Regions from separate parts of the Homo sapiens genome. Here region 2 is linked to region 1. Evidence: promoter capture Hi-C in human tissues and cell types (Jung and others, 2019). All regions are on one chromosome and are shown on one strand. The core of a region is centred on a gene start or on the middle of the fragment in contact, and the rest is flanking DNA. Distances in the headings are between cores, read along the strand shown.

Region 1 (4,435 bases), core at 482-2,981:
CCAAGTCCCAAGGGTGCATCCCAGGGCAGAGGGAGAAGACGCACTGTCCACTCACAGAGGCCCAGTTATCTTGAGAGGAAGGATTTTCTTTTTCTGGGAGTCATTTCAGCCCAGAGGCAGCTATATGGGGAGGTCCTCACAGGGGAGATTTGTGGGGAGCAGTATCGCCTCAGGACATGTCCCTAAGGCTGGTCCCCACATGCCTTCATGTCCTGGCTGATCCACAGAGGCTCCAGTTCCTCCCATGGAGAAGGTTCTGCACATGGGAGACCTTCCCTTTTCAGCAGCCACTAGTGGAGCAGAGGTGACTCTAACTGTCCATCAGGACAATGGCTCCCACCTGGGAGCAGCTTCTGCAGCAGGCTCTGTGCTAGTGTGTCCTGTGCACCCTTCCACTTTATCTGTGGACACATCCATCAATCCTGCCATTTGCAAATGAGCAGACTAAGACCACATTCCCCAAAGAGGAGAGCGGTCTAAGTCAGAGGGCAAGGTCACGGGGAGGAGAAAGGCCAAGGAAAGCTTCTGAAAGGTGAAGTGAGTGGCCAACTTTTATCTGGGTTTGGCAACAGGTCTCATTGATAAGAGGGAGATAAGAAGAAGAATATAAGAGAAAGGTGCCTTCGGGTGTAGTGGAAGTGGGAGACGGCCCATGCCTCTCCTCTGGCCCAGCTGTACCCTCATAACAGGAAATAGTCCAGGCAAGGAGAGGACCCTGGACAGTGGGCATAAGAAGCCTCGAGTCCAGCAATGGAGAATGTGGGAATGCCAGGGACTCGCCTCTCTGTGCAGCCAACCCTCTGCCCAGGAGCCCCGCAGAGGTGCATTAATGTGGGAAGACAGGCAGGAAAAGGATTCAATGCAGGCCTGGAGTGGGAGGACAAGGAAGTGAGAAGGGCTTGCGTAGGCACCTCACAGAAATGAATAAGCAGAGGAATGAGTAAGATGCCTCCTCTGCTTCTCTGCCACCCCAGATCCCAGCCCACCCCTTCACCCCCACTCCCTAAGCCTCGTACCCCTCAGGAAGTCCATCCATCCTGAGACCTAGACCCATCCTGCTGCCACACTCACCATGCCCTGGTGTCCCCAAAACCAGTTCCGTCTTGGGGGTTGTGGGAAACACCGAAGGCGGCGGCAGTTGTCATAGAAGGCGTAGGTCCAGGCCAGGACATGGGCCAGGAGCCAGGAGGCCCCGACCAGCAGGAGGAGCAGCCAAGGGGATGCTGCCACTGGCCAGAGGCCCAGCCAGGACAGGCTCAGCTGGGACATCCTGCAGGGCAGACGGGATGGACGGTGAGATCCTGAGGCCCAGAGAACGGCCCAGGGACCTCCAGGGACAGTGGAGAGGCAGGGACGGGCAGTGCCGGAGGTAGAGCAGGGAGGGCTCAGGGATGGGTAAAAAGGGGCTGAGAGGTAAAGTCCAGAAAGGCCCAACCAAAACCAGCAGCCAAGTGGCCTCCAGTTCCCTAGTAAGCACTTAGAATGGGAAAGAGAGAGAGAGACTGATTAAAGTCCAGAAAGGCCCAGCCTGAATCACTGTGAGGTTGCCAGGGGCTTGGTTTCAGTTACTCGGAAACCACCCATCCTCCAGGCCAGCACCCAGGAGCTGCGTGGGCCTTGGGCAGTGCCCCTCTCCATCCCAGGCCAGGACCCCCCCCAGGCCTGCCACCCCCAGCCTGGCACCTTCTGTCAGGAGCAGTCTGTCCCAGACAACCTCCTCTCTCTGTCTGCTGGGAGGCCTTTGACCCTGGCCCTTGATATAGCAAAGGCTGTGGGAGGGCTGGCTGGGTTGGGCTGGGCCAACCAATCCCTGCAGCCTGGATGTGTCTCCTGAGCCTGGGCAGCCAATCAACACCTGGCGTCAGGCCAGCTGGGTGCAGAGGAATCAGCTCAGGGTCCAGATGGATGGGTAGATGCACAGATAGATAGAGTAGATAGGATGGATACATTAGGTAGATAGATAAAGTAGATATAGATAATGGATATATTAGACAGATGGATAGATAGCTATTAATAGATGATAGATAGATACATAGATAATAGGATAAATAGATGGAATGGATAAACGTACAGCTAAGATGGATTGATGGATGGATGGGTAGGCAAATATATATATAGATGAGAAATTAGATAGATAGGATGAATAGATTAGATAGACACACCCAGAAATAATGTTCCATCTCTGTCCCAGATATGTGGGATCCTCATTTGTGACATGGGAACTAGGGATCTTGGATCACTCCAATCACTCCAGATGCTACAAGGCCAGTGACTTACTCAGTATGATGCTGAGGAACATGACCATCAGAAACAGGATCAGAGTCACTCTCAAGCAAAAAAAAAAAAAAAAAAAAAAAAAAAAAAAAAAAAAACTCCAAGGATTAAATGATTTTTCCCATTGTCCTGGGGAGAAATTAATCCAAGGGAGGTCACAGGAGGGCAAATAATTCCCCATCACCACCACCACCACCATGAGCATACCATCACCCATGGAGTTTTCTGATTTACTCTTTGGCCCATTAAGCGTGAAATTTCTTATGCTAGGTTTCTTTCTGATAAGGGAGAAGAGATTAGTATCTCTACATTTCCTCTCCTCCTGCTACCTAGTCTCTGTATTCTAGGTTAAATTATAATTTATGTTGAGGATTTACAATGGCTGATACACCTAGCTGAGCCTTCTGCACAGAGATACATTGGGAGTGGAGGTTAATTGGGTCAAAGGAGAAATGCCATAAGCCCACACTCCAGCCTATCAGGGTGGATTAAAGGTCTGATTTGCCCAACTCTTGTCACACCTGCTCCCACTGAGAGGTGACAGCATGCTGGCAGTCCTCACAGCCCTCACTCGCTCTCGGCGCCTCCTCTGCCTGGGCTCCCACTTTGGCGGCACTTGAGGAGCCCTTCAGCCCACCGCTGCACTGTGGGAGCCCCTTTCTTTTCTCTTCTTTTCTTTTTTTTTGGATTTTTTTATTATTATTATTATACTTTAAGTTTTAGGGTACATGCGCACAATGTGCAGGTTAGTTACATATGTATACATGTGCCATGCTGGTGCGCTGCACCCACTAACTCGTCATCTAGCATTAGGTATATCTCCCAATGCTATCCCTCCCCCCTCCCCCCACCCCACAACAGTCCCCAGAGTGTGATGTTCCCCTTCCTGTGTCCATATGTTCTCATTGTGTAGGGACATGGATGAAATTGGAAATCATCATTCTCAGTAAACTATCGCAAGAACAAAAAACCAAACACCGCATATTCTCACTTATAGGTGTAGGAGCCCCTTTCTAGGCTGGCCAAGGCCAGAGCCGGCTCCCTCAGCTTGCAGGGAGGTATGGAGGGAGAGGCGCGAGTACGAACCGGGGCTGCGCGCGGCACTTGCGGGCCAGCTAGAGTTCCAGGTGGGCGTAGGCTTGGCAGGCCCCGCACTCGGAGCAGCCGGCCGGCCCTGCCAGCCCCGGGCAATGAGGGGCTTAGCACCCGGGCCAGCGGCTGCTCGGGAAGGTGTACTCGGTCCCCCAGCAGTGCCAGCCCACCGGCGCTGCGCTCGATTTCTCGCCGGGCCTTAGCTGCCTTCCCGCGGGGCAGGGCCCAGGACCTGCAGCCCGCCATGCCTGAGCCCCCGGCCTCCGTAGGTTCCTGTGCAGCCCGAGCCTCCCCGATGAGCGCCGCCCCCTGCTCCAGGGCGCCCAGTCCCATCGACCACCCAAGGGCTGAGGAGTGCGAGCGCACGGCGCGGGACTGGCAGGCAGCTCCACCTGCAGCCCCGGTGCGGGATCCACTGGGTGAAGCCAGCTGGGCTTCTGAGTCTGGTGGGGACGTGGAGAACCTTTGTGTCTAGCTCAAGGATTGTGAACGCACCAATCAGCGCCCTGTCAAAACAGACCACTTGGCTCTACCAATCAGCAGGACATAGGTAGGGCCAGATAAGAGAATAAAAGCAGGCTGCCCGAGCCAGCAGTGGCAACCCGCTCAGGCCCCCTTCCACATTGTGGAAGCTTTGTTCTTTCACTCTTTGCAATAAATCTTGCTGCTGCTCACTCTTTAGGTTCACACTGCTTTTATGAGCTGTAACACTCACCGCGAAAGTCTGCAGCTTCACTCCTGAGCCAGCGAGACCACGAACCCACCAGAAGGAAGAAACTCCGAACACATCTGAACATCAGAAAGAACAAACTCCAGACGCGCCACCTTAAGAGCTGTAACACTCACCGCGAGGGTCCGCGGCTTCATTCTTGAAGTCAGTGAGACCAAGAACCCACCAATTCCGGACACACCATTGTCTGAGTAAGTTTGGGTGCCAGGACTATGAGGTCGTGTGAAGACTTCCAGCCCCATACCTGCAGAACAGTCTGCAGCTCACTCTGCTCTGAACTGCCCCAACTTTGCACAGATATTCTCCATTCCTCGAAATGAAACTGTATCCTTCAAAGCT
Region 2 (4,719 bases), core at 137-2,636, 64 kb before region 1:
ACTACTTTGGTCAGGCCCTCTCTCATGACTTTCTTTCTGCCCATCTGCCTCCCACCTTATTCAATATGTTGAAGACCTTCTTCTTTGCAGCCCTTCTTACCAATCTTCCCAGCAGGACACTATCCTATCCTACTTCTTCAATATCTCTACTCAAAGGGGTACTGAGTATCCCCCTCTAAAGCTCATATTTCCTCCCCTAGTGTTACATATCTCGACATAGTCCTCCATCAACATACACGCACTCTTCCTGCAGACTGTGTTCAGTTAATCTCCCAGACCCTATTCCCCACCACCAAACAACAACTCCTTTCCTTCTTAGGCGTTGTTGGATACTTCCGACTCTGGGTACCAAGGTTTTGCCATTCTAACCAAACTGCTTTACAAACTCACTAAAGGTAATTTAGCTGATCCCATAGACCATAAGTCCTTTCCCCATGCTTCCTTTCATTCTCTCAAAAAGGCCCTAGAAACAGCTCCCACACTAGCACTCCCTGACTTGTCCCAACCTTTTTCCTTACACACAGCTGAAACACAAGGCTGTGCTGCTGGAGTTCTCACACAGGAGCCAGGCCCACGACCTATAGCCTTTCTATCCAAACAACTTGACCTCACAATTCTAGGCTGGCCCTCATGTCTACATGTGGTGGCAGCTGCCGCTTTAACACTTCCAGAGTCTCTCAAAATCACAGGCTATGCTCCACTTACCCTCTACAGTTCTCACAACCTTCAAGCATTAATATCCTCCTCACACCTTTCACACTTGCTGTCTGCCCCTCGACATCTCCAGCTCTATTCACTCTTTATTGAAACCCCAACAATAACTACTGCCCATGGGCCCGATTTCAACCCAGCTTCTCACTTAGCACCCAACACAAGTCCTGGCCAACATGATTGTATCTCCCTAATACACATAGCATCTTCCCCCTTTCCTCATATTTCTATTTTTCCAATCCCAAATCCAGACCACACTTGGTTTATTCATGGCAGTTCCTCTAAACCCAGTCAAATCTCGCCAGCTAAAGCTGGTTATGCTGTCGTGTCCCATACCTCTATTATTGAGGCTGCTGCACTTCCTCCCTCCACTACTTCCCAACAAGCCAAACTGATTGCTTTAACTTGTGCACTCTCTGTCGCCAAAGGAATGCACATTAAAATTTATATTGACTCCTAATATGCTTTCCACATCCTCCACAACCATGCTACCCTTTGGACTGAAAGAGGTTTTCTCACCACACAAGGCTCTTCCATTATCAATACCTCTCTAATAAAGGCCCTCCTTAATGCTGCTCTCTTGCTGGCCAAAGCTGGGTTCATTCATTGTAAAGGACACCAGAAACCAACTGATCTTATTGCTAAAGGAAATGCCTACGCCAACAGGACAGCAAAAGAAACAGCAAATGCCTCCACGCCTGCAAATATTCTAGCCCTCACCCCAAAAGGCTAGTACTTTTCTTTCTTCTCTATCACCCCCACCTACTCCTCTTCTAAAAAACCTGCTCTACCAGTCTTTTCCAACTCAGGGCAAGTGGTTCTTAGATCATGGAAAATTCGTTCTTCCTGCCTCACAAGCCCAGTCTACTCTCTCTTCCCTTCATGACCATTTCCATATAGGATATAAGCCTCTGGCTGGCCTCCTACAGCCCCTCATTTCCATCCCATCATGGAAATCCATCCTTAAAACCATCACCTCTCAATGCTCTGTCTGCCATGCCACCAACCCCCGAGGTCTTCTCAGGCCTCCTCCTTTTCCTACGCATCAGGCTCATGGATTTCCTCCGACACAAGATTGGCAAATTGACTTTATTCATATGCCGCGTGTCTGTAAATTTAAATATCTCCTGGTTTGGGCCAATACCTTCACCGGATGGGTCGAGGCCTTTCCCACTAGCTCTGAAAGGCTACTACAGTCATTTCTTCCCTTCTGACAGATATAATCCCCCAATTTGGCCTCCCTACTTCCACAGTTTCTCAGGCTCTTGGTATTCAGTGGAAACTTCATACCCCCTACCGTCCTCAATCTTCAGGAAAGGTAGAACGGATGAATGGTCTTTTAAAAACACACCTCACCAAGCTCAGCCTCCAACTTAAAAAGGACTGGACAGTACTTTTACCACTTGCCCTCCTCAGAATTAGGGCCTGTCCTTGAGAAGCCACAGGGTACAACCCATTTCAATTTTATATGGATGCACCTTCTTACTCAGCCACAATCTTGTTCCAGACACCAGCCCCCTGGGCAACTATCTTCCAGTCCTCTAGCAGGCTAGACAGGAAATTTGCCAAGCTGCTAATCTTCTCTTGCCTACTCCAGATTCCCAGCCATATGAAGACACCCTAGCTGGACGATCAGTCCTTGTCAAAAGTCTGACCCCTCAAACTCTACAGCCTCAATGGACCAGACCCTACCCGGTCATTTATAGCACACCAACTGCCGTCCATCTGCAGGACCCTCTCCATTGGGTTCACCATTCCAGAATAAAGCCATGCCCATCAGACAGCCAGCTTGATCTCTCCTCTTCCTCCTGGAAGCCACAAGATTAGGCCGAGAGCCGATCAGACAAACAACCTACAACCCTTAAGCTCCTGGCAGCGCCCAGCCAAGGCCATGCTTCCTTGCAACACTCCTTCCAAATGGCCATCCCAGCATGCTTCCAAGCAGGCTTCATCCGTTCCTCTGGACCCTCATCTCTTAAGACCTGCCGCCTATAAAAAGGATTATATCTTGAGACCCTATCCTCTAAAATTTTTTCCACACCCAAAACAAAAAATCTCTGGGTCAAAAGTCTAAAACGCTTAGGCTGGCAACCATCAGATCCTTGCCCATGGTGTCCTCAAGCCTACTCTCATGAAATGGACAACAGTACACGCATATGGGGCCAGTTCCACATATTTGGCAACCAGACCAGCATCCAGGACAACACAAAGTATGTTGTTTGTTGTTAGAGGGCTTGGGACATTTCACTCTTTGCCAGCCTCAGCTTAATCCAGGAGACAAAGATTATTTTCCTTATTATCTCTTCTGCATAGGATCTGCAATCAGAACTATTGAACTTCTCCATTCAGACCGCCACTCACACCTATGGGAAAAGGGTAATGTATCATCGGCTTAGCAACAGGGAATACTATTCGTATGATGGAAAATGGGGACAAAAGGCTTTGGTACATAAAACATTATTCCTTCCTTGGCCTAAAAACTCATCGCCACCTACATTAAAGCTAATATGCCTGATTACTGTTTTTAGAGAACTTATTTTATTAGGGCAGTTCCAAGCTCAAAAATACGCTAACTGGCACCTTGTTAGCTACATAAAAATGCACCCTAGACCCGAAACTTACTAGACTCATTATAAAATTTTCTTTAAGGTGTCCACGCAGTCCCTGGTCACACTTGAAGCAGTCCGGAGAAATATCAGCCCTACCCCAGTAATCCCCAGAAGGAACTTACACTTTTTTTTAATCTTTTCCTACAACTTCATATTTTATAAATAAAAAGACAAAAATGTCAGGCCTGTGAGCTGAAGCTTAGCCATTGTAACCCCTGTGACCTGCACATATCCGTCCAGGTGGCCTGCAGGAGCCAAGAAGTCTGGAGCAGCCGAAAAACCACAAAGAAGTGAAACAGCCAGTTCCTGCCTTAACTAATTAACCCACCTTACGACATTCCACCATTATGACTTGTCCACCATTATGACTTGTTCCTGCCCTGCCCCAACTGATCAATCAACCCTGTGACATTCTTCTCCTGGACAATGAGTCCCATCATCTCTCCACCATGCACCTTGTGACCCCCTCCTCTGCTGAGGATAACCACCTTTAACTGTAACTTTCCACGCCTACCCAAGCCCTATAAAGCTGCCCCTCTCCTATCTCCCTTCACTGACTCTCTTTTCGGACTCAGCCCACTTGCACCCAAGTGAATTAACAGCCTTGTTGCTCACACAAAGCCTGATTGGGTGTCTTCTATACGGACACGCGTGACAGGAACCTCAACCCAAAGGCAGTCTGATGAGGTGTCTAAGATAAAAGTAGCGGCACAAAGGCTTTTGTAAACAGAGGCGTTTCATGTGGTTTTCCTTTCCTTTCCTTATATGTGAAAAGGTGACAGAAAAGAAATCTTCCTAAAAGAGTCAGCCACTGCTCTGTGGAACGATGATCATTTAAATGCCACGTCGATTTGAAACGTACAACAAAGGGACTAACAGTTGAGAACCATGTGGATTGCAGTGGAGACGCTGGCGTTAGAGAATGCGGGGAGGGAAACGTTCATTACAAGATTTACGGCCAGCCCAAGGGGGAGCGAGGCTGGGGGACCGGGTCGCGGAGACCCGGCTTCGCACACCTTTTGGAAGACTCAGGGAGAAGCGGGGGCCGCCTTCGGGGGGAAAGGCGGGACTGGGGAGCCCACAGGCCATGGCTCCTCCCACAGGATCCCCAGGCCGGAGGCGGGATCCCCCCATGATCCTCCCGTGGCCCCCGCACAATCTGGGGAGATGCGGAGCTGCCCAGAGAGGGCTCTGGGGCGACAGTCACTGCGCAGGGACAGGACAGGACTCCCGGAGTCCCAGCTGCCGGCCCAGCCCCACCCTGCGGCCGAGAGGACCGAGGGCCGAGCTGCTCCAGGGGAACTCGGGTCCCAGACCCCGGAGTCGCAGCGGACAGGCCCGGGTCCCGCCACAGCCAGATCCGGCTGGTTCCACCAGCTCCTCCTCCGGTCTCGGGACG

Evidence for each region. The method cuts DNA at HindIII sites, captures the fragments that hold promoters and counts their contacts. A contact is called where the count stands out against the background at its distance.
Region 2: a fragment that was not itself captured here is called in contact with the fragment with the promoter of CYP4F2 in region 1 in 2 of the 25 tissues and cell types used here (bladder and dorsolateral prefrontal cortex).

Annotation. Positions count from the first base shown.
Region 1 is chr19:15,896,343-15,900,777 of GRCh38, forward strand. It overlaps CYP4F2 (cytochrome P450 family 4 subfamily F member 2), which reads right to left and starts at 1,732. Exons shown (of 13, transcript NM_001082.5): 1 at 1,684-1,732; 2 at 1,072-1,270. The coding sequence starts at 1,269. The HindIII fragment of the contact is 5,329 bases long and covers 1-4,276 here.
Region 2 is chr19:15,832,194-15,836,912 of GRCh38, forward strand. LOC124900418 (collagen alpha-1(I) chain-like) reads left to right here. Exons shown (of 3, transcript XM_047439793.1): 3 at 3,025-4,719. The coding sequence starts at 4,209. It overlaps UCA1 (urothelial cancer associated 1), which reads left to right. Exons shown (of 3, transcript NR_015379.3): 3 at 2,309-4,128. Among named protein-coding and RNA genes, the nearest start is that of UCA1, 5.6 kb to the left of the region's middle. RefSeq lists an enhancer at 2,745-3,944 and a silencer at 4,375-4,594. The HindIII fragment of the contact is 5,632 bases long and covers 1-4,202 here.